6 separate regions of the Homo sapiens genome follow, and all the other regions are linked to region 1. The links are contacts of gene promoters, found by promoter capture Hi-C in blood cells and fetal thymus (Javierre and others, 2016). All regions are on one chromosome and are shown on one strand. Each heading gives the region's core, a stretch centred on a gene start or on the middle of the fragment in contact. The rest is flanking DNA. Distances are from core to core; before and after follow the strand shown. Region 1 holds the start of HSF2BP (heat shock transcription factor 2 binding protein). Region 2 holds the start of WDR4 (WDR4 tRNA N7-guanosine methyltransferase non-catalytic subunit). Region 3 holds the start of CBS (cystathionine beta-synthase). Region 4 overlaps U2AF1 (U2 small nuclear RNA auxiliary factor 1). Region 5 overlaps LOC101928369 (a long non-coding RNA gene). Region 6 overlaps LOC101928369 (a long non-coding RNA gene).

What was found. Contacts are between HindIII fragments. The CHiCAGO score rates a contact against its expected background, and 5 or more counts as called.
Region 2: a contact is called between the fragment with the promoter of WDR4 here and the fragment with the promoter of HSF2BP in region 1, in 3 of 17 cell types (fetal thymus, M0 macrophages and total B cells). The highest score is 6.6, in fetal thymus.
Region 3: a contact is called between the fragment with the promoter of CBS here and the fragment with the promoter of HSF2BP in region 1, in 2 of 17 cell types (total CD8 T cells and total B cells). The highest score is 5.3, in total CD8 T cells.
Region 4: a contact is called between a fragment that was not itself captured here and the fragment with the promoter of HSF2BP in region 1, in 2 of 17 cell types (M1 macrophages and M2 macrophages). The highest score is 5.8, in M1 macrophages.
Region 5: a contact is called between a fragment that was not itself captured here and the fragment with the promoter of HSF2BP in region 1, in 12 of 17 cell types (M1 macrophages, naive CD8 T cells, total CD8 T cells and 9 more). The highest score is 9.9, in M1 macrophages.
Region 6: a fragment that was not itself captured here is called in contact with the fragment with the promoter of HSF2BP in region 1 in 9 of 17 cell types (M0 macrophages, endothelial precursors, M1 macrophages and 6 more); the score reaches 11.0 in M0 macrophages.

Annotation. Positions count from the first base shown.
Region 1 is chr21:43,657,674-43,661,604 of GRCh38, forward strand. It overlaps HSF2BP (heat shock transcription factor 2 binding protein), which reads right to left and starts at 1,815. Exons shown (of 9, transcript NM_007031.2): 1 at 1,713-1,815; 2 at 388-647. The coding sequence starts at 423. RRP1B (ribosomal RNA processing 1B) reads left to right here and starts at 1,887. Exons shown (of 16, transcript NM_015056.3): 1 at 1,887-2,121. The coding sequence starts at 1,992. RefSeq lists a silencer at 1,920-2,109 and an enhancer at 2,830-2,879. The HindIII fragment of the contact is 5,137 bases long and covers 1-3,931 here.
Region 2 is chr21:42,877,351-42,881,281 of GRCh38, forward strand. WDR4 (WDR4 tRNA N7-guanosine methyltransferase non-catalytic subunit) reads right to left here and starts at 2,189. Exons shown (of 11, transcript NM_018669.6): 1 at 2,057-2,189. The coding sequence starts at 2,145. It overlaps LOC105372817 (a long non-coding RNA gene), which reads left to right and starts at 2,362. Exons shown (of 4, transcript XR_937765.3): 1 at 2,362-2,405. RefSeq lists enhancers at 251-1,214, 1,215-2,179, 1,832-1,881, 1,912-2,021, 2,092-2,441. The HindIII fragment of the contact is 4,183 bases long and covers 1-3,516 here.
Region 3 is chr21:43,073,732-43,077,662 of GRCh38, forward strand. CBS (cystathionine beta-synthase) reads right to left here and starts at 2,104. Exons shown (of 17, transcript NM_000071.3): 1 at 2,039-2,104. The HindIII fragment of the contact is 28,872 bases long and covers 1-3,931 here.
Region 4 is chr21:43,094,368-43,098,298 of GRCh38, forward strand. It overlaps U2AF1 (U2 small nuclear RNA auxiliary factor 1), which reads right to left. Exons shown (of 8, transcript NM_006758.3): 4 at 1,327-1,376; 5 at 1,071-1,169; 6 at 288-421; 7 at 104-196. Among named protein-coding and RNA genes, the nearest start is that of U2AF1, 11 kb to the right of the region's middle. The HindIII fragment of the contact is 4,462 bases long and covers 1-3,931 here.
Region 5 is chr21:43,111,216-43,115,146 of GRCh38, forward strand. The region is part of intron 2 of LOC101928369 (a long non-coding RNA gene); the gene reads left to right. Among named protein-coding and RNA genes, the nearest start is that of U2AF1, 5.6 kb to the left of the region's middle. The HindIII fragment of the contact is 4,508 bases long and covers 1-3,931 here.
Region 6 is chr21:43,128,637-43,132,567 of GRCh38, forward strand. All of the region lies in intron 3 of LOC101928369 (a long non-coding RNA gene), which reads left to right. Among named protein-coding and RNA genes, the nearest start is that of FRGCA, 10 kb to the right of the region's middle. The HindIII fragment of the contact is 3,058 bases long and covers 162-3,219 here.

The sequences.
Region 1 (3,931 bases), core at 565-3,064:
ATCGATGGAGGGCAGATTCTCTCTAAGCCTGACGCTAAGTCCCGAAGCAGGGGGCCAGGGCCTTCGGAGGGGAACTGGGCTTCCACGGAGCAGAGAAGAGAGTGACCATCCATCCCACGCTCCCATGCCCGCTTTGGCGCCACTGAGTGCCCCCACCACGCGCAGCCTCACAGACCGGGTCCCCGCGTGGGTTTGGAGGCGAAGTCGCCTCCCGCCCCAGGTCTCCACCCCGCTCCGGCCCAGCCCACGCCGTTAGGGGAGGAAGTCTCCAGGCTTCCCCCAAGCACGCGACAGCGAGCCGTCTCCGAGCGCACGGGGCGAGGCCCTGAGGGGAGCGAATGGCGACGGTTCAAACACGCTGGCGTCGGCCAGGGCTTCCTCACTAACCCGGCAGGCCTCCTCAGCGGCGCCCGCTTCGCCCATGGCCGCTGCCGCCTCCGCTCCGTTCGCCTGAGCGTCGGCGCGCCCTCTGACCCCTCACGCCAGAAAGCGCGGGAACGAATCCACGCCGGGGGTCGGGAACGGAGAGCCGCCAGGCCCAAACCTCCCAGAATTTGCGCAGTATTCTCGGCCTAGAGAGCGAGGAGTGGCCTTGGCGAGGTCCCTCTTTGGCTCTTCTGGCTTAGCCGGGGTTTTAAACTTGTTATCTGCAAAGCAGAAGGAAAGTCAGCCCCTGATGTAAGTGTCAAGTAAAATAAATCGGATGGGTCCTTTCCTGTTTGGCGAGGAATGCTACACTAAGGGGGACTGCGTTCAAATGGGCAGTCTTTGCTGGAAACCTCGCCTCCGCGCGCCTTCCCTCGCTCGGATTCAGGCGCTTTTACGTTAAGGGTTGAATTTTTGTGTCAACAGGCACCTCGGGAGGTCGCCTAGACAACTGAGCGGAGCAACTGAGATAACCCCCGCTACGTGTGGAGTGACCTAGTCCATTAACTTGCCCCAGCACGCCCGCTGAGTCCGCAAAATATAGGATGGCCTCGGGTTTTAGATGAACCCAAAGCTAAGATTTCTTCCCTCTCTGGAATTAGCAAGCAGCCCGCCCTGCCCAACTCCCCTGGAAGCGCGCGTGCTCGCCAGGCCTCGGGACGCCTGCGCGGGCGCCCTTGCACTGGCACCAGGGCTCCGGGGTAGGGGCGCACCGATCTGCCCAAGCCTCTGCAGGCACTGGAGGAAGGCGAGCCCTCCACCCGCTCAACAGGCCCCAGTGCCGGCCTTTCCTTCCAGTCTCAACTCCACCCGGGGGCCCGGGGGCTCCACAGTTAAAAACTCCACGCCACGGAGATCGCAGGTAAGCTGCTGGCTCAACGAGGTGTGCTAAATGGGATTAAAGATCCTGGACCGTGGCCAGGCGCGGCGGCTCAAGCCTGTAATCCCAGCGATCAGGGAGGCCGCCGCGGGAGGATTGCTTGAGCCCAGGAGTTTGAGACCAGCTTGGGCAACATAGCGAGACACCGTCTCTACAAAAAAATAACAAATAGTGGGGCGTGATGGCGCGCGCCTGTAGTCTCAGCTACTTGGGCGGTCGAGATGGGAGGATCGATCGAGTCTGGGAGGTCGAGGCTGCAGTGAGCCAGGATCACCGCCAAGATCGCGCCACTGCATTCCAGCCTGGGCGACAGAGGGAGACCCTGTCTCAAAAACAAACAAAAAATCCTAGACCGTTTACAAACAGCCTTCCGTCTCTTCCTGGTCAAGTCCTAACCCTGGCTAACCTCGCCGTCTACAGCCTGAATTTTGGCAACCGAAAGGCAGCGCCGGCGCCACGTGCACACGGGCTGGGCCGCTCCGCCAGCTGCCAGGGCCACTGCCGCGCTCACTCCCAGAGCGCGCTGCGAGCCGCGGCGCCTTTGTGACGCCATCAGCCCGCGCGCCGCCGCCGCCGCCTTCTGTGCAGTCGCGGCCCGGGCGGACGGTGGCTGGCTGCTCCGCAGCGCTCGGCTGGCTGCAGCGGCACCGCGGGTTGCGCGGCCGGGGATGCTCCAGCGGGCGCGATGGCCCCCGCCATGCAGCCGGCCGAGATCCAATTTGCCCAGCGGCTGGCGTCCAGCGAGAAGGGCATCCGGGACCGAGCGGTGAAGAAGCTGCGCCAGTACATCAGCGTGAAGACGCAGAGGGAGACAGGTGGGCGCACGGCCGCGGTCAGCCGCGCCACATGGCGGGCCGGGGGCCGGGGCTGGGGCTAGGGCCAGGGCCCCGGCACGGAATGCGGCTTCCACGTGTTGTCGTGACACCCAGCGTGTGCTTCGGTTTCCGCGCTGCCGGAACCGCTTCTTGCTGTGTCTAGTGCCTTTTTACACTTAAGGAAACGGGTTGAGGGGGTTCCGTTACTTATGAAAGTCACAGTAAGCGGGGAAGCTGAGAAAAGACCCACATGGGTCCGATTCCCCAGCCGGCATCTCGAATCACTGGGCTGCCCTGATTTGCCCTGGTGTCCGGTCGGTGATTGCCGCCTTCCTTTGACCAGCACCTTTACGTGACGGGGCTGCAGGAGAGAAGACAGACAAAATCACTACCCTCGAGGATCTATTAGTAATAAAGCAAGGAGGCAAACAGGCAAATAAAGTAGACCTTGTGTAAGTGTAGTAAAGGAAATGAAAACCAGGTAGCAGGCCGGGCGCGGTGTCTCACGCATGTAATCCCAGCACTCTGGGAAGCCGAGGCGGGCGGATCACCTGAGGTCGGGAGTTCGAGACCAGCCGGACCAACATGGTGAAACCCCGGCTCTACTAAAAATACAGAATTAGCCGGGCATGGTGGCGCATGCCTGTAATCTCAGTACTCGGGAGGCTGAGGCAGGAGAATCGCTTGAACCTGGGAGGCGGAGGTTGCGGTGAGCCGAGATCGCAGCATTGCACTCCGGCCTGGGCAACAAGAGCGAAACTCCGTCTCAAAAAGAAAAGAAAAGAAAAAAGGAAAAAGAAAACCAGATAATAGCAAAAAGGGAAGGAGGTTGCTCTTCTTGATAGGCTGTTCTGGGAAGGCCTCTCTGGGCTGATAATCAGCTCAGATCTGAAGAGAAATGAGCGGAAACCGCCTATGCAGAGGCAGGAAAGAGCTTCACGTGCCCTAGGAGTGGTTTGAAAGACCAATAAGTTGGGGTTGGGGGGGCGAGTGTTATGAGATGAAGTTGGAGATGTAGGCAGTGGCCAGATCACACAGGGCTTTGTAGTTTAGATTTTAACGGCACTGCTGTTGGATGATTTCATTTACCTGATCCAAAAATACTTTCTATAAACTCTTGAGTGAGCCCATACAATATGAACTACAATGTGTAATAGAGGTTTTAAGATAAAGTTTTATTTAGTTACTGATGGTACTAATACATTTAGAATCTGCTTAAAAGAACAGATATTATCTCCCCCATCACTGACATTCTCAGTTTGTTTTATTTTTAAGAGAAATCACCAGACTACCCAAAAAAAGAAAATACACTTTCCTGGGAAGTCTGATAGAAAAAGGAATAAAGACCAAAATTCCTGACTTTGATTCTGTTAAGAATCTCCCCAAGAGATTTTGTTTAGTCTCACAGTTCCAGGTACCCCATATATGCTGGTGGTTTCTAAACCTAAATTGTTGTCCCAGCCCATTCCTACTTGCAGCTCGGATGTGCCTTGCTAGCCTGGCTTCTCTACCTGGCACCTCACACTCAGGATGCCAAAAAAAGTTCTGTTTTCTTTCCCCGAAATCCTGTTCTCTGCTGCTGCTCCACTGCCACCTGTTTTCTTTTCTTTTGGTTGCTGGTTCCCACCAGCCATTCAGATTCCAGCCGGACACACGGGATTGTCCTGGACTCCTCTGAATTCCTCATCCTCTTCCCCTGGCCCACATCCAGTGGGAGGACCCCCGTCCTCCCTCGTTCACCTCCTGATGACATAAATTCTTGACCGTGGGCTCTTTGTATCTCACCGAAACTTCTGCGCCCGCATATTCC
Region 2 (3,931 bases), core at 939-3,438, 780 kb before region 1:
CCAGGCTGGTCTCAAGCTCCTGACCTCAGATGATCTGCCCGCCTCAGCCTCCCAAAGTGCTGAGATTATAGGCAGAGCCACTGCGCCCAGCCTAACAATGATTTTTAAAAGAGCACTTTGTTAAAAAAAAAAAAAAAAAGTTGATTTTTTTTCTCTGTGGAACAAAAAATATTTGCACACTCATTAAATTAAAAGTTGTATACTTGACAAGAAAACTGTCTAGATACAATATTTCAGGGAACAGTTAACAAACTTTATTTGCTTAATCTCTTATTGGAGTACGTCATACTGCATAGTTCTGTGGGAAAAAAAAGTTCAGTAAAACAAATGAGGGATAAATACTCAACAGGAATTAATATGCTATTCTTTTAGGCACCACAAAATCTATGCGACATGGTTATAAGAAATTACGGGCCGGGCGCGGTGGTTCACGCCTGTAATCCCAGCACTTTGGGAGGCCGAGATGGGCGGATCACGAGGTCAGGAGATCGAGACCAGCCTGGCTAACACAGTGAAACCCCCATCTCCACTAAAAATATAAAAAATTAGCCAGGCATGGTGGCAGGCGCCTGCAGTCCCAACTACTCGGGAGGCTGAGGCAGGAGAATGGCGTGAACCCGGGAGGCGGAGCTTGCAGTGAGCCAAGATCGCGCCACTGCACTCCAGCCTGGGCGACAAAGCGAGACTCCTCAAAAAAAAAAAAAAAGAAAAAAAAGAAATTATGTTCTGATACTGTTGAGCGTTCAGTGGGATTCTGTATACAAATTTCAAAGAGCCATTACTATTTAGAAACATATCTCACCTACCTGAAAGTGTTCCCATGACCCCAGGCACTTACCAACATAAGAATCACCCATTTTCCATACTGAACCTAAACTTCGGTTTATCCCATCCTCACCCCCTGGCACGTATCTTGTACATATTTATAGCCTTTAAAGCGAGTGCACCAAAAAACTTTCCATATGGAACCGTGGACTTGTCTTCCAAGTCAGAAACTCCACCAGCCACTAGAATTTCCTCAAAATGCAAAGACTGAAGGTAAGCAAATCATGTCTAATATATCCACAGCTCACTCTGGCAGATATTAGACCGTGAGTCTCTAAAACAAAATCATCTGGGATATGTGACGGGTTTCTGAGTACAATTTTTGTGAGACCTAACTTAACATCGAATTGGCTTTCTAAAACCAAACGAACAAAAAATATACAGTATATCTGACAGACACGTCGTCCGTTTCAAATATGAAATCACAAATAACCTGGGAAAGGAAACGAGGGGCTGAAACTGACAGCACTACTAATTGCTCCGAGAGTCCTGAGTTAGGACTGTTCCATCAACAAACATTTACTAAGTTAAAAATCCCCTGCGTCGTCCTAGCACTGGCGATACACTAAGGAAGGAGAATAAAATTACGGAAAGCAAAACCCGAGCCGTGCGAAGGGCCACTAGGGAGGTGCGCACTGCGAGCTCCACGTGCACCCTTGGGTTGGGTAAGTGTCGGAGATGACTTGGAGCCCTAAGGAGCAATTAAGGCCAGGTGAGTGGATGCAGGCCGGGAAGAGGGAACAGACAACCCTGCAAAAAGAGGGAGCGCGCTTGGAGGTCAGTGAGCTCGCAGTGAGTAAGCCCCTCCCTTCTCACCAGGGAGACCCGAGACCCGCTTCTTCCCAGTTCTGCAGAGCGTGTTCGGCCGGGCCTTGCTGACTGGTCAGCGTCGCCCCACGTGCTCTACCTACCCGGTCCCCGCCGGCGCCGCGGAGACCGGAAGCGACCCGGCGGCGCTAACCGGGCAAGAACACCGCAGACCAGCCATCTAGTGCAAGGAGCGCGCCGGAGCCGGGGAGCGGACGCCGAGAGCGGACGGCGAAAGCGGACCCTCCAGGCGCAGAGACGCGGCCAGGCCGAGACTGCGGCGGAGGACTCGTGGGCTGGAGCGGAGTTCCCCGGGGTCACCCCAGAGTGGGTGCGACCAGGCGGTGCGGGAGAAGCGGGGTCGCCAGGACCCGACGCGCGCCCGCAGCCTGGTCTCCCTGTTCCAAGACCAAGGCCCCCTCACCTGCTTGCTATGGAGGTGGCCAGGAATCGGCTGCCGCCCCGCACCACCAACGTCTGCCCGCACAACGCCAGTCCCACAGAGCCCGCCATGTACCCGCCCGCCTCACCGCCATACACATGTGCCAGCCCAGAGCCTCTTCCTGTCCGCACCGGTCGGTGACGCCAGGCGCAGACGCCGAGAGATGACGTATACCCCACGTACCGCGCATGCTCAAGGACGAGCCTGCCTTGAGCATGCGTGAAAGGTGCTGTGACCGCCCTCCGGGTTGTGGCTGGTGGCCTTCGGTGTTTCGGGTTTGGCAGTTCACTCACCAAGGTGATCTGATGGAGTGCACTTCGCACGATTCCAAGTACTTGCCTAATGTTCATCCTTTCCTCTAGACGGGGTAGGGCTGGTTCTGGATCTTTTTCCGCGGTAGCTGGAGAGACGTAGGACCTGATGATGGCTACTAGATGCCTGGTAAATGATCCTTCAAGAAGTGAATGAACCGGGGGCCGTGGCTCACATGAAGTCAGCAGTTCGAGAGCAGCCTGACCAATATGGTGAAACCCCGTTTCTACTAAAAGTACAAAAATTTGTTGGGCGTGGTGGCGTGCGACTGTAGCCCCAACTACTTGGGAGGCTGAGACAGAAGAATTGCCTGAACCCGGGAGGCGGAGGTTGCAGTGAGTCGAGATCGCCCCCGCTGCACTCCAGCCAGGGCGACAGAGCGAGACTCTCTCTCAAAAAAAAAAAAAATGTCCAAGATGTGGTCATGGGTGAGGGTGTCTCGGGTGGCGTCAAGTCTGAGGTCGCTAGAAGTAAGCCTACTGAATCTTTGCACTTAGACAAGCCACAGATGCCTTAAAATCTCCGAACTGTAGTGATATTTTCAACCCAAACTATGGTTAGTTTCCAGTGTTCATCCCAAGATCCCCAAAAGCCTCTTACAATCCCAGCATCAGGCACAAAATCTAGGATCTCACGGTCTGTTTTAGATTGGCTTGTCCGGTGCAGCTCCTCTTGATCCAGAGACTTACAAACTAAAAAGATTAATTTTCTCTCCCGTGCACGCAATATATGATGGTGAGCCGGGACCAGATAACCACAATAAATACTTGCATGTGAAAATGAGAAGAGGAGGAGACACAGTAATCACTGGTCCAAAGCAATTCTGAAATCCTACTGGAAGATGTTTTCAGGCCCTACAAGAATAAGAAGTCTTAACCAGGCCCGAGTTCTGCTTCCTGGGAGTATCTCCCCAGGCTGTATCTCAGCACAGCTCTTGCCTCTGCCCTCTTGGGTGTCCCTCCTTTTCCAGCACCTTCTTGGCCATGTTGAAGAATGTGCCCTTTGAGAAACTTTCTCAACCTCCTTCCTGTCATTAGCAAATTGTGAGCCCACAGACCTTTTTTCACTCTAAACTGTTCTGTCCACATTTTGGCAGCTGGTGGTGCTTTGTTCACTACAAGTCCCTTAAAAGCTTTATGGGCTTCTCAAGAATCTGATTCAGGTGCTCTCCATGCCCAAGAAGCCACTCCCACTAGTCTTTTTTTTTTTTTTAGACGGAGTCTCGCTCTGTCGCCCAGGCTGAAGTGCAACCTCCACCTCCCGAGTTCACGCCATTCTCCTGCCTCAGCCTCCTGAGTAGCTGGGACTACAGGCGCCCGCCACCACGCCTGGCTAATTTTTTGTATTTTTCAGTGGAGACGGGGTTTCACCATGTTAGCCAGGATGTTCTGGATCTCCTGACCTTGTGATCCGCCTGCCTCGGCCTCCCAAAGTGCTGGGATTACAGGCGTGAGCCACCGCGCCCAGCCACTTGTTAACATTTAAATCATTGAGATCACCTTGACTTCAGCATTATTCTTAAGGCCATATTTTATTAGCGCCACT
Region 3 (3,931 bases), core at 854-3,353, 580 kb before region 1:
GTCTCAAAAAATAAAAATAAAAATAAAAATAAAAGAAAATAAATAAAGTAACAAATATACGACATCAGTTTAAGATCTTAATAACAGGGGAAACTGGGGGAACTCTATCTATTTTTTCAATTTTTCTAAATCTAAAACTGCTCTTTTTTAAATTTTCGAGACGGAGTCTCCCTCTTGTTGCCCAGGCTGGAGCAGTGGTGCGATCTCGGCTCACTGCAACCTCCACCTCCCGGGTTCAAGCAGTTCTCCTGTCTCAGCCTCCTGAGTAGGATTACAGACGCCCGCCACCACATCCGGCTAATTTTTGTATTTTTAGTAGAGACGAAGTTTCACCATGTTGGCCAGGCTGGTCTCGAACTCCTGACCTCAGGTGATTCGCCCGCCTAGCCTCTCAAAGTGCTGGGATTATAGGAGTGAGCCACCCCGCCCGGCCTAAAACTGCTTTTTTTTTAAAAAGCCTATTAAAAAAGAAAAAGTTGCGGAAGCCGGCTGCCTTTGGAAGCCCTTGGAGTATGCTGTTCAGGTGGTCTCTGCGCACAGGCCCTACCCAGGCCTCAGCTTGGCCTCCTGGACTTCCCAGCCTCCCCTCCACCTTTGCAATTCACCAGACTGGGGGCCAAAGCGGCTTCAAACGACCCTGGAGGGTGGTGCTTTCAAGGTCTTGGGACCACGGACTTGTCTGAAAATCCGAAGGCGTTGGATCTTCTCTTCCCCAGAAAAATGCACCCGCTTTCAGAGGTTCGTGTCCCACGCTTTTCTTTCTATCCCAACCTTGTAAGAAGCCGCCGCCGTGAGCGGAGCAGCACCTTCCTCCGCGGGTCGCGGGAGTCACCTACGGGAAGGGACTCTCCGTCTGGCACAGGCCCTGTCTGGCCTGGGGCGCGCATGCTCCGCCGCCGAATCTTCCAGAAAGCCGTGGACCCGAGGCCCCGGCAGACGCAGGCGGCCCAGCGCCTTGCTTTTGGCCCCTCGCCTCGCCCTGGAGCCCTCTCTCGCAAGGTAAGGGACTGCCGGGAACGCAGATCGCAAGCCGTCGGGGCTCTGTAGAACTCAGAGGCGCTCGGCGGAAAGCTCGCCAGGCGACCCAGACCCGAACCCGCGGGCTCCCCAAGACAACAGCGCCGGGCGGCCGGATGCACGTGCGTCCCGGGAAGGCGGGTTCAGCTGGCATCGCCTGGCCGGTTCCGTTCGCTCCTTAAACCACAAGACCCCCTTGGGGTCACGACGTTCCCGGGGCACCCCTGCACTCGCGCGCCAGCACTCCCGGAGGGGCCTGGGGAAGGCCACGCGCACGGAGAGCGGGAAACTCCTCTAGGTTTCCAGGTGGGAGATCCAGACCCTACTGAGACCCGGAAACCGCCGGCCACTCCGCCTCCGGAAGCGACACTTTGGGACAAAGCTGGGGACAAGTAAGCCCAGAAGATCCTCGGGAAGCCGAGAATTTCGCGCTCCGCTCTCCCACCCACGCTCCGCCTCCCGCTTGCATCCTACAGCTCAGCTGCGGTCTCGCCTGGGGCTCAGGGAAGTGAGGTCCCAGGAAAACCTCCATCCCCCGAACGCAACCTGGGCAGAGCCCCGCGTCCCTCCCCCAGCGGGCACCCACCTCGCGTGCCGCCCGCGCAACGACAGCGTTTACCGCCACCCCACACGGTCCGCCAAAAAGGGCGATTTGCAAACAGCCATTTCCCATCCACAATGCAGCGAACTCAATGCTGGGCACCGAAACGTGCATCTCCCCCGGATTCCCACCCCGCGTCCCTGCTCCACGCTCCAGGACTCGCCGCCAGTGGGGTCCACTCCGCCGGCGCGGGGGCTGGGGTGGGAGCCCGGGGCCACGTGCACGGCCAGCCCCCATCTTCTGGGCGGTCAAGACCGCAGGCGTGGGCGCCGGTGGGGCGGGGGTCTTGGGAGACCCTGTCTCGCCGCCTTTCGGTGCAGATGATGCAACTCTGGGCGGAGGCGCGGAGAGGGAAACCGGGACCCAGTTGAGATCCTCTGTCCAGAGAGGGGAGCGAGTCTCGGTGGGGCCGGATCTCACCTGGACGGATACATGGAAAAGAGGGGCGAGCGGCTGCCCCGACTGCGGCGAGGCGGAGACGGCGACCCCGGGGTGGCGGCCTCGCGGGGACCCACGGCGAGGGGAGCAGGCGGGCGGTGATTGGCGGAGAGGCGGGGGCGGAGGCCGGCGCCGGCCAATGTCTCGTGGCAGAGCACCCGCCCCCCCAGCCCCTCCTCCACCCCACCCAGCCCGGGCCCCTCCCCCCCACCCCTTCCCCACCCCGCCGCAGCCTGGGACCCTCCGGCCTGCCCGACCCCCGCCCTCCCCGGGACCCCGGCATGCCCCCACCCCAGTCCGCCCGCCCCATTCCCACGCCCTGTTGATTCAACCGCAGACCCGGGTCGCCGCCCCCTCCCCCGCCTTCCTCTTCGCCTGAGCCCGCCCGCCCCGGGTTCCAGCCACCCCCACCCGCGGACCCCGGTGGTGTCTTCTACCTGGTGTTCCGATGCTGTTTTACTTGGTTAACTTCTTGCCCTTCGGGAATTTAAGGAACCTTTACTGATGAGCTTGAAACGTGCGTCCTGGTGGGTGGGGGGCCCTGCGCGTCCTCGAGGACCGACCCCGAGGGCGTGTGTCGCGGGCCCGGGAGGGGGCGCCGCGCCGGGGCGGGACTCGATGGCCGCGCTCTGTGGCCGCCGGACGCCGTGCGCAGCGCCCCGCGTGACCGCGCCCAGAGCCGGGTCCGAACCCCGAGCCGAGGCGCAGAACAGTCGCCTTGCGCGGCTCCGGTGCGGCCCACGGCCAGGGGCTGCCGGGCGCTCTCGGGGACGGGGCCGACTCCGCGCAGGGTGGTAGCAGGGGCGCCCCGCGGGGCTCCTTCGCCAGGTCCCGGAGGCCGCGGGCGGGGCCGTTTCCCAAACATCGTGCTCTGGACTTTCAGAGGCTGAACCTGATCCCCCCGCCCTATGGCTAAATGGGGGATCCCAGGCCCCCGAGTCTCCCCCCGGACCTGCAGCGAAAGACACGGACGGTGCCCATCAGCTCTGGGCAGAGGAACGTGCTGCGCCTCCGCAGCGTCCCCGGCTCAGGTCAGAGCGATGCTCCGCAGCCTCCTCCGGCCCGCGCAGCTCCGCCGCGGTCTCTGCCACGTGGGGCTCACAGTAGGGGAGGGAGTGAGACGTGAATTAGAATTAAATGTCCACTGGCAGGAACTGACACGAAGAACAATAAAGCCGGCGATGTGGGGAGGGGACAGGGATGGAGTTACATCATGAAGGCTCTGGAAGGTGGCATTGGAGGCCGGGATCGCGCCACTGTCCTCCAGCCTGTGCGACTGAGCGAGACTGTCTCCAGAAAAAAAAAAAAAAAAAAAAAAAAAAAAAAAAATCCTGTCCAGTCTTTATAAGAAGAGAGACGTGGACACAGACACGCGGAGAGAAAAAGGCCATGTGGAGATGGCGGCAGAGATGAGATGTGCTGCCACCAGACGAGAAATGGCAGGGATGGCTGGCGGCCTCCACAGGGCTGGGAAAGGTGGCCAGGGCCTCCCTCAGAGCCTTCAGCCAGCCTGCGGGAGAGAAAGATGATAAACGGTGTTGTTTTTGTTGTTGTTGTTTGAGACAGAGTCTGTGTCACACAGGCTGGAGTGCAATGGTGAGATCTTGGCTCACTGCAGCCTCAGCCTCCCGGGTTCAAGCGATTCTCCTGCCTCAGCCACCCGAGTAGCTGGGATTACAGGCACGCACCACCATGCCAGGCTAATTTTTGTATTTTTAGTAGAGACGGGGTTTCATCATGTTGACCAAGCTGGTCTCGAACCCCTAACATCAGGTGATCCATCCGCCTCGGCCTCCCAAAAGTGCTAGGCTCACAGGAGTGAGCCACCGCGCCCAGCCCAATGTGTGTTGTTTTAAACCACTCAAGTTTGCAGTA
Region 4 (3,931 bases), core at 569-3,068, 560 kb before region 1:
AAACAGAAACGACACCTATGCCAAAATTTTTTTTTTGGAAGGGGGAGGGTTGTGAGGGGAGAAAGAAGCCACTGAGCTTAACAACGGGCACAGGAATACTCACTTCTTGCGACGGCGGCCATACAGCTCCCGCCGCAGCTCTCTGGAAATGGGCTTCAAATGCATGAAGTTGCAGAAGCCGCCTCGTGTGCATTCTCTGTGGGTGGGTTGGAAGGAGACATTTACTACCTCGTGTGCACACGGCCCCGAACTGTGCTCAGTCACGTCACTGGCCACTCCTCACTCACCCCATCTCATACTGACGGCAGCAGGCTTCTCTGAAGTCCGTCACGGGTGACAGCTCGGCGTGGATCGGCTGTCCATTAAACCAACGGTTATTCAAGTCAATCACAGCCTTTTCCGCATCTTCCTCACGGCGAAACTGAAAAGACAAAAACAGAAGTGCTTGCCATCCACGCTTTAATAAGACTTTCTCAATTACCAATCCAAGTATATCAGAGAGAGATATACACACTCAGGTATAGTAAGGTGGAATAGTATTACAGGATAATTGAAAAATCCTTTATTTTCAATGAGATTAACTTCAAGATAGTCCAAGATTTTGCCAAATGTTGCCTTCATTTTTCAAATTCAACTGGTTAAAGGAGCAAATATGGCTGTGTAGGCAAATAAAGTTTTATTCACTAAAAAAGAAAAAAGAAACCAAACATGTGAGTAAACCTAACTTTTCCTTAGTCCACACAGCTTCTAAACCAACAGGTACTAAATATTCTACACTGAAATAACGATGGCTGTGGTGTACGGTCCGTCCTTCAGTTCTGCTGGCTGGGCGCACGTGTGGGCTGGCCACCGCCACATATGACGCAGCTGGTAGGCGCCGAGCCAGTGCACCTGAGCCCTGCTGTGCGCCTGAGCATCCAGGATCTCAAGGTGCATGGCGACAGGCACCCCATCCTCTGTCGGCCTTGGCCCCGGCACACTAAGCGGCTGCACCACTGTCTCGCTTTCGCCTGTTGGCCTTGGCCCTGGCACACTAAGCGGCCACGCCGCCGTCTCGCCCTGGCTCCTACCTTGACGTACACGTTCCCCACCAGGTGGTCTCCCAGGTTGTCACAGACGTTCATCTCCTCTACTTCCCCATACTTCTCCTCCATTTCTGTAAAAACCTCCTGAAGGGAGACCACAGTGGTTTAAGACTCGTTATACATTACAAAGTGTCATTAGATATAACTCATGTATGTTTATTAGCAGAGAAACATTTTAAATCCTTCCAAACAGATACAGAAGATCAACAGGTCTATCAGTCACAGAGTTCAGTTCTCTCACCTCAAAAAACTCATCATAGTGTTCCTGCATCTCCACATCGCTCACGGCACCTGCAAACAACAGAAATCTTGCTGGTTAGAACATGTTAACCGAGTGAACTCTTGTGTTTAAACTCAAACTGCTACAGTAACACACACGAGATTATCTAGAGAAAAGCCTGGCAGAGCTGCACTCTGCAGGAGCACTCAGGAGACTGAGCCACATGGCTACTTGTGAATGGTGTCAAGTGTGGTGAGATTTTAAATGTCCCCATGACAGTCTCGATTCTGGCTACTAAGGTGTTAAAATCACAACCAGCTTTAATCAGCATCAAAAGGGCCACATTTTCAGAAACTGTGAGGAAAAAGTTGACTCTCAAACTACAAATTTTTTTTTTACACCCACAAGATGCAGTCTGGCTCTGTCGCCCAGGCTGGAGTGCAGTGGCACCATCTCAGCTCACTGCAACCTCCACCTCTGGGGTTCAAGCGATTCTCCTGTCTCAGCCTCTGGAGTTGCTGGGACTACAGGCGACTGCCACCACGCCCGGCTAATTTTTTTTTTTTTTTTTAATTTTTAGTACAGACAGGGTTTCACCACGTTGGCAGGCTGGTCTTGAACTCCTGACCTCAAGTGATCCGCCTGCCTTGGCCTCCCAAAGTGCTGTGATTACAGGCGTGAGACACCGCACCTGGGCTCAAACTAAGAAATATTAAAATTTTCTTCCTTTTAAGATTTAGAGTAAAGGCCAAATAAGCACACTGATGTCTTCCCCTCTTCTATAAGTTTAAAATGAAACCTGAAAGCAGGGTCGATGATTAAAAGCTGATGTTCCTAACTAGTCTTTTATGGACTGCCAGCCATGGTATGCTCTCAAATTCTTCTGATGTGATTAAAATCCAAGCAACCATGAAGATTCAGTAGGACAGTTCACGCAACCTTACGGTATTGTGGACGCCCTCAAGTAAAGGGAATGTTACAATGTTTTGCTGATGAAAGCATTCTTTTTTTTTTCTTTTTTTTGAGACGGAGTCTCACTCTGTCGCCCAGGCTGGAGTGCGGTGGCGCAATCTCGGCTCACTGCAACCTCCGCTTCCTGGGCTCATGCGATTCTCTGCCTCAGCCTCCTGAGTAGCTGGGATTACAGGCGCCCACAACCACGCCCGGCTAATTTTTGTATTTTTAATAGAGATGGGGTTTCACCATCTTGGCCAGGCTAGTCTTGAACTCCTGACCTCGTGATCCACCTGCCTCGGCCTCCCAAAGTGCTGGGATTACAGGTGTGAGCCGCCGTGCCCGGCGCAAGTATTCTTAAGTTTTATATTCCCAAACTATTTTCATCAGTTTATTCTTCATAATTCACATGTATTAGGTAAAATCATGTCTGTTGCGTGGGTAAATTTGGCAAATTTACACTCTATCCCCATCATCATTCTATCAAATTTAATTAATTTTTTTTTCTTTTGAGATGGAGTCTCTGTCCACTCCAGGCTGGAGTGCAGTGGCGTGATCTTGGCTCACTGCAACCTCCACTTCCTAGGTTCAAGCAATTCTCCTTCCTCAGCCTCCCAAGTAGGTGGGACTACAGGCGCGCACCACCATGCCTGGCTAATTTTTGTATTTTTAGTAGAGACGGGGTTTCACCATGTTGGCCAGGCTGGTCTCAACCTCCTGACCTCACGTGATCTGCTTACCTCAGCCTCCCAAAGTGCTGAGATTACAGGCATGAGCCACTGCCCCCGGCCCACTCTATCAAATTCTAGAGTTCTCTAAACCTGAGAAATCACAGAGCTGGTGTATCAACAAACATGTTCCAATCAGCTAGATTAGGGGCTGGCAAAAGCCTGACTGGTTTCCAGATTGGGCCGGCTGCCTTAGCCTGTGCACCCAACGTGGGCATCTGACTGCTGGCACACGGGTCTTTGAGCTTGCTCAAAACTCTTTTTATCTTTTTTTTTTTTTTTTTTGAGACGGCGTCTCACTGTCTCCAGGCTGGAGTGCAATGGCGTGATCTTGGCTAATTTTTGTAGTTTTAGTAGAGACGGGGTTCCACCATGTTGGCCAGGATGGTCTCAATCTCTCGACCTCGTGATCCACTTGCCTCGGCTTTCCAAAGTGCTGGGATTACAGGCGTGAGCCACCGTGCCCGGCCCCCTTTTTATCTTTGAAGATAAAAAATAACTTCTTATTTTCTAATTCTGAGAATGATTTAAGTTCACTTTCTAACCTATCCGGGGCTGTTTTAGTTATTTTTGAACTTCCAGGAATCTGCTTTCGAACCCAAATTTTATTAAGTGTAACTACTCGGACAGCCTGCCAATCATATCACAGGATATCCCAATTGGAAAGCTATTGGGAATGTACCTTCCTCCCCGAGTAGAAATCAAGTTATAAACGGCCAAAGTAGCCTATTCCAAAGGGCAGATTTTAATATTTCAAATTCACTTCCTTCCCACATAAGAAGAATGTGAAGAGGAGAAAATTATTCACATGCTCAAAGTTTTAGCAGGTTTGAGAAATGGTTTTGGGGTGATTATTTTAAATTATTGGCTATATTTGTTCTGCTTAAAATGTTTCAATCAAAGTGACTTGAAAGGCAGAGACAACTGCATTAAGATACAATTAA
Region 5 (3,931 bases), core at 925-3,424, 550 kb before region 1:
GTTTGTTTTGAGACAGAGTCTTGCTCTGTTACCCAGGCTGGAGTGCATTGGCGTGATCTTGGCTCACTGCAACCTCTGCCTCCCAGGTTCAAACGATTCTTCTGAGCTGGGATTACAGGCATCCCCCACCTTGCCTCGCAATTTTTTTTTTTTTTTTTTTGAGACAGAGTTTCATTCTTGTTGCCCAGGCTAGAGTGCAGTGGCACGATCTCAGCTTGTTGCAACCTCCCCCTCCCGGGTTCAAGCGATTCTTCTGCCTCAGCCTCCCAGTAGCTGGGATTACAGACACCCACCACCATGCCTGGCTAATGTTTTGTGTTTTTAGTAGAGACAGGGTTTCACCATGTAGGCCAGGCTGGTCTCGAACTTCTGATCTCAGGTGATCCACCAGCCTTGGCCTCCCAAAGTGCTGGGATTACAGGTGTGAGCCACCACGCCCAGCCATCCACAGTTCTTTTTAAAATTTAGAAGTAGTTTCAGGCTGGGTGAGGTGGCTCACACCTGTAATCCCAGCACTTTGGGAGGCCAAGGTGGGTGGATCACGAGGTCAGGAGTTCAAGACCAGCCTGGCCAAGATGGTGAAACCTCATCTCTATTAAAAATACAAAAATTAGCCGGGCATGGTGGCGGGCGCCTGTAATCCCAGCTACTTGGGAGGCTGAGGCAGAGAATCACATGAAACCCAGGAAGCGGAGGTTGCAGTGAGCCAAGATGGCGCCACTGTACTCCAGCCTGGGTGACAGAGTGAGACTCTGTCTCAAAACAAAAACAAAAACAAACAAACAAAAAGACCATGGAGGCTTTCTCCTGTTTGTTTCCAGCTGCTGCTTCTCCTTCTGCCTCTGGGATGATCTAAACTCATCTCTTTCTGCCTGTTCCCTCAGCTCCCATACATCTCTTAAGCAGTGTTTTTGGAATTCCACAATGCACACATTTCCTTCTCTCAAAAAGGGGAAAGTATATTTAAATTTGGAACAGACTGGGTGCGGTGGCTCACACCTGTAATCCCAGCACTTTGGGAGGCCAAATTGGGCAGATCACCTGAGGTCAGGAGTTCGAGACCAGCCTGGCCAACAGGGTGAAAACCCGTCTCTACTAAAAATAAAAAAAGATTAGCGGGGAGTGGCTGCGGGCTCCTGTAATCCCAGCTACTTGGGAGACTGAGGCAGGAGAATCACTTGAATCCGGGAGGCAGAGGTCGCAGTGAGCCGAGACGGCGCTATCGCACTCCAGCCTGGGCGACAAGAAGGAAACTGCGTCTCAAAAAAACCCAAAACAACAACAACAACAAAAATAAAAAATAAAAAATAAAAGAAATAGGCCAGAAAAGAAATGTTAGCTCAAGCCTGTAATCCCAACACTTTGGGAGGCCAAGGCTGGTGGATCACATGAGGTCAGGAGTTCAAGACCAGTCTGGCCAACATGGTGAAACCCCATCTCTACTAAAAACACATGTGGTGGCATGTACCTGTATTCCCAGCTACTCGGGAGGCTGAGGCAGGAGAATCGCTTGAACCCAGTAGGTGGAGGTTGCAGTAAGCTGAGATGGTGCCACTGCACTCCAGCCTGGGCGACAGAGCGAGATGCTGCCAAAAAGAAAAAGAAAAAGAGAAAGGAAGGGAGGGAAGGAGGGAGGGAAATTAAAAAAATAAAATGCTAACATCCAGGGAATTAGTTCAGCTGAGATCAGATCTGAAACAAGTCAAAACCCTTTAAATGCTCAAACTGCCTGCTCTGGAGCCCCTGCAGGGTTTGTCAGTGCTCCAGCCTGTGGGCCAGAGGCTATGAGTCTCTACAAACATGAGGCTATGTTTGCAGCCTGGGTTCAATTTCCAGTCCTGTTTTTTTTTTTTTTTTTTGAGACGGAGTCTTGCTGTGTTGCCCATGCTGGAGTGCAGTGGCATGATCTCGGCTCAGTGCAGCCTCCGCCTTCCAGGTTCCAGCAGTTCTCCTGCCTCAGCCTCCCGAGTAGCTGGGATTATAGGTGCCCACCACCACGCCCAGCTAATTTTTTGTATTTTTAGTACAGACAGGGTTTCACCATGTTGGCCAGGCTGGTCTTGAACTCCTGACCTCAGGTGATCTGCCTGCCTCGGCCTCCCAAAGTGCTGGGATTACAGGTGTGAGCCACCGCGCCTGGCCTTCTTTTTTTTTTTTTTTTTTTTTTGAGATGGAGTTTCGCTCTCGTCACCCAGGCTGGAGTGCAATGGCATGGTCTAAGCTCACTGCAACCTCCACCTCTCAGGTTCAGTCAATTCTTCTGCCTCAGCCTCCCAAGTAGGTGGGATTACAGGTGCTCACCACCACGCCTGGCTAATTTTTGTGTTTTTAGTAGAGATGGGGTTTCACCATGTTGGCCAGGCTGGTCTCGAACTCCTGACGTCAAGTGATCCACCCACCTCAGCTTCCCAAAGTGCTGGGATTACAGGTGTGAGCAGCAAGATTTCTTTTTCTGAGCTGTCTTTAGAGTGGTTCTGACGCTTAGGAAGACTGCTTTGCATTTCTTTGGAGATGCTTGGTTCAGCCTTGGTTAAGTCATGACCTTCGTTATGCCATTACCTTGGTTAAATCTTTGTTTTTGAGATGGAGTCTCGCTGTGTCACCCAAGCTGGAGTGCAGTGGTGCGATCTTGGCTCACTGCAACCTCTGTCTCCTGGGTTGAAGCAATTCTCCTGCCTTAGCCTCCCGAGTAGCTGGGATGACAGGTGCATGCCACCACACCTGGCTAATTTACCTTGGTTAAGTCTCACTGGTTTTGTGAGTAACTTGAAAATGTCCATTTCGTTTTTTTTTTTTGAGATGGAGTTTCGCTCTCATTGCCCAGGCTGGAGTGTAATGGCCTGATCTCGGCTCACTGCAACTTCGGCCTGCCAGGTTCAAGCGGTCCTCCTGCCTCAGCCTCCCAAGTAGCTGGGATTACATGCATGCACCACCACACCTGGCTAATTTTGTATTTTTAGTAGAGACAAAGTTTCACCATGTTGGCCAGGCTGGTCTTGAACTCCTGATCTCAGGTGATCCACCCACCTTGGCCTCCCAAAGTGCTGGGATTACAGACATGAGCCACCGCACCCGGCCAAGTTTTTTCTTTTTTTATATGTAATAAGTTGGATAAAGTGTTTATAAAAAGTTAAAAGTAGGCCCTCAAGCAGGTAAAGTAGGCTTGCTTCTTTTCAGAGCTATCCATGCTGATTCCAGGCATAGAGAATGCCTCCTTTGCCCTATTCATTAAAGGGCTTCACCCTGAAGTCAGTAATCTAATAGAGAAACAAGCTAAGTTGAAAAGACCCTGTGATGGTTAATATTAGCTGTCAACCTGATTGGATTGAAGGATGGTAAAGTATTGTTCTTGGGTGTGTTGTGAGGGTGTTGCCAGAGGAAATTGACATTGGAGTCAGTGGACTGAGAGAGGAAGACCCACCCTCAGTGTGGGTGGGCACCATCCGATTGGCTGACAGTGTGGCTGGAACAAAGCAGGTGGAGGAGGGTGGGAGAAGCTGGCTTGCTGAGTCTTCTGGCTTTTGTAGCCACCCAGTGAGTTCACCTAGCCGGCTGCCTAGATGGAGCGGATTTATCAGGACAGGGGAATTGCAATGCAGAACGAGTAATTTACACAGAGCTACCTGTGCGGGCGACTGGAGTTTTATTATTACTCAAATTAGACATCCCAAGAATTTGCAGATCAGAGTTTTTAAAGATAATTTGGCGGCTCAGGAAGTAGGAGTGCTGATTGATCTGGCTGGAGATGGAATCACAGGGAGGTCAAAGTGAGGTTTCCTTGCTGTCTTCTGTTCCTGGGTACAATGGCAGAACTGGCTGAGCCAGATAGCCGGTCTGTGTGGTATCAGCTGATCCATAGAGTACAGGGTCTTGCAGAATAAATACCTCAAGCACTGATCTTCGGATTACAATGGTGATGTTATCCCCAGGA
Region 6 (3,931 bases), core at 441-2,940, 530 kb before region 1:
TCTCAACAGCTTCCCCTCCTTACCTGCAAAGGTTGAACAGACCTGGATCTGCTATCCTGCTTTGCCACTTCCTGCTGCATGACCTGCATTATGAAGTTCTCTAGACTCAGGGTTTCCATTGGCTAATAGGATCAGCCAACCTGCCTTTGAGGAGTGGACGAAGCTTGGCACTTAGTAGGTGCCCATGAGGCATCAGAAACTGCCCTTGTTGAATGATGCTCTAATGCGGTGTTGACATCTCTGTCCTACTAGACTGGGGTTGCTTTGAGGACTCCAATTCTGTCTTTTCATCCTGATTCCATGATGGAACAGACCCACAGGCCCTTGTCAGCATTCCAAAAAGCAAAAAGCTGTGAAAATGAAAAGGACTTTTTTTTTTTTTCTGTAAACTTGGTGCCAAAATTTGCAAAAGCTGACCTGACCCAAGGTGTTGGCAGCATCCCAACACTCCCTCTGTTACAGGCACCTCTGCTGGTTGCTGACAATGTATATGTTTTAATTTTTAAAATGCATTTGTCTTTTTGTGACCATGGGTTTAATTGCACTGTGAATTCATACAAAAAGGGTAGCATGTACCCAGTGCTCACTGTGGGAAGGACACATGGAAACACTCTCTTTGTCAATAGTGCAGAAAGCATCAGTGATGTTGGGAAGCCATCAAAAGACAAGCAGTTGGGCTGTGCGTGGTGGCTCATGCTTATAATCCTAGCACTTTGGGAGGCTGAGGTGGGAGGATTGCTTGAGGTCAAGAGTTCAAGACCAACCTGGCCAACATAGCAAGATCCCCTCTCTATTAAAAAAAAGACAAACAGTTGAAAATTTATAATAATTGTGATTACCAAGAGCCATTGAAATATGGAAAACACAGGGTCAGTGGGGTGTGGTGTAGGGAGAGAGATCTTGACCAGGAATGGATGGAACGGAATTGGCAATGAAGTAGTCACTGTATGCCAAGGAGTGGTTTGTTGGTTATGAAAGAAGCTGGAATACAGCAGGAAGAACTGAACTTTAAAGGTGAGCATGAATATTCAAGAAGTGTCATGGTGTAAAACAATCTGCATAGCTGTGGTGGAAAGGCTTCTTTCCTGATCAGGAAACAGCTGAAAATTACATTGATGGATTTGTATCCTCTGAAAACCTTAGTCTCAACCAGGCGCGGTGGCTCACGCCTGCGATCCCGGCACTTTGGGAGTCCAAGGCAAGTGGATTGCTTGAGCCCAGGAATTTGAGACCAGTCTGGCCAACGTGGCAAAACCCCATCTCTGCAAAAAATACAGAAATTAGCCAAGCATGGTGGTGCATGCCTGTAGTCCCAGCTACTCTGGAGGCTGAGGTAGGAGGATCACTGAGCCCAGGGAGGTTGAGGCTGCAGTGAGCCAAGATGGTGCCACTGCACTTCAGCCTGGGTGACAGAGAGAGACCCTGTCTGAAAGCCAAAAAACAACAAAACCTAAGTCAGAACAAGTTTGTGTAGCTGATGAGTCAGGCAGCTTCACCTGTGCTCCTTTCTAGACAGGCAGGATGGTTGCGGAGAGTCACAACAGGCGTCCAGGAGGAAAGGCACGAGATGATGCTGGCCAAAGCTAGTTGTGGTTGGAAAAAGCCACTGGTGTGAACGGTGTATGCTAGTATGCAAGGGAACATATACTGGGAACTCGAGCCATGTTTTCTGCATGGTTTAATAATCCTTTGTATCAGTGCCAGGAATTCACTGCAGATAAGCTGGTCTGGAAGAAAAACGAACATTTTGTTATTTCTGCACAGCTGCTCCACACATTCCTTTCCTGAAAGTCTTTTGAAAAGCAATGTTTCTGACATTTACTTTCCACGATTTGTGAAGGGAGTTTTACACTCCAATAAGAGTGAATATAAATGATTTTTTGGGGGGAAGGGGGAATCCTGCCATTAACAGAAAGCAGGGCTTCCTGACTAAGTTCACTCACAAGGCTGCCATTCACACAGTCACAAATGCTCGGACAGGATGGACAGTTCCACTAACGTGCGCTTGGTTGACTGTGTGAACCCCAACCATTTGAGACAGGCCTCAGTTAATTTAGAAAGTTTATTTTGCCAAGGTTGAGGACGTGTACCCGTGACATGGCCTCAGGAGGTCCTGACAACATGTGCCCAAGGTGGTCGGAGCACAGCTTGGTTTTAGACACTTTGGGGAGACCTGAGACATCAGTTAACACATGTAAGATGAACATTGGTTTGGTCCGGAAAGGTGGGACAACTCAAAGCAAAAGCGGAACTCAAAGCCGGAGGGGGCTTCCAGGTCATGGGTAGATAAGAGACAAGTGGTCGCATTCTTTTGAGCTTCTGATGAGCCCCTCCAAAGGAAGCAATCAGATATGCATTTATCTCAGTGAGCAGAGGGGTGACTTGCAGTAGAAAGGGAGGCAGGTTTGCTATAAGCAGCTCCCAGTTTGACTTTTCCCTTTAGCTTCGTGATTTTGGGGGCCCAAGAGATTTTCCTTTCACAACTGCACGAGCACTTTGACCTAAAACAATTCTTGAAACCGAACCTGGAGATAAAGCCCATCTATGGCAGAAGAAGGTGATAGCAAACCGCATTATTGACCCTCAAAGTTTATCAACCAAAAGTGGAGTCAGGAGAAAGTCACAGAGAAGAGATGCTGAACCTAGAAATGGGGCACCTATTGTGCCTGCCTCGCATGATGGAGAAATTGCTGGAATCGACTGAATACCAGTGACAATGGGAGGGGAAATGTCGGGGAGATGTGGACCCTGGGGAGTCCCCACAGACTATCTGGCAATATCTGTGGCCTGCTAACTGCTGGCTTCAAGGACATTTATCAGTGAGCAGGAGGACCCCTGAATTAGAGAGATGCTTAGGTGTGGCACTGGTGTTGTGGGAGGAAGTGCCGAGAAGCCCATTGACACGGTGCTGCCCCAGGACTTCAGAGACTCTTCAATCCATCCTCCATGCTGCCTCCAGCCCCATGACCTCAGCAATGTATCACTGCTGTGCTCCCTTTCCCAAGACCCCCAAGCAGCCAGATGTAGCCTGATTCATTACATGTATGCATACAGGTGTCAATCTAAAATAGTCAAAAGGGCCAGAATCTAGTTTAAGGAGAGTTTATTCAAGTGCAAGGTTTAAGTCCAGCCATCCAGGAAGCACAGATTCCAAAGAATGGAAGTCAGTGTTCTGAAGTATAGAAGTTTGGGACCATGTATATAGATAAAGTTTATGGAAGCTTACCAGAATTTCAACATCTTTAGGCTTTAATGCATAGTTACAATGGTCTGATTAGTCGAGGTGGTCTTTTTCTTTCAAGAAAGGTGTATTTGGCCAGGCATAGTGGCTCATGCCTGTAATCCTAGCACTTTGGGAGGCCAAGGTGGGCAGATCACCTGAGGGCAGGAGTTCAAGACCAGCATGGCTAACATGGTGAAACCCTGTCTCTACTAAAAATGCAAAAATTAGCTGGGCGTGGTGGCAGGCACCTATAACCCCAGCTACTCGGGAGGCTGAGGCAGGAGAATTGCTTGAACCCGGGAGGCGGAGGTTGCAGTGAGCCAAGATCACACCACTGCACTCCAGCCTGGACAACAGAGCCAGACTCTGTCTCAAAAAAAAAAAAAAAGAAGAAGAAGAAGAAGAAAGGTGTATTTAATCTTCCCCACTGAAGATGCAACCGTCATGAGGTCTTTGCGCCATCTGATCTGAGTTGGGTACAGGACAATAAAGGAGGCAGCTAATCTGTAACAGAGATCAGTGATGGGAAGGAGGAGATCTGGTCTCTGGGAGACTGAGGCAGGAGGATTACTTGAGCTCAGGAGTTCTTTTTTTTTGAGACGAGTCTCGCTCTGTCACCCTGGCTGGAGTGCAATGGCGCGATCTTGGCTCAATGCAACCTCCACTTCCCAGGTTCAAGTGATTCTCTTCCCTCAGCCTCCTGAGGAG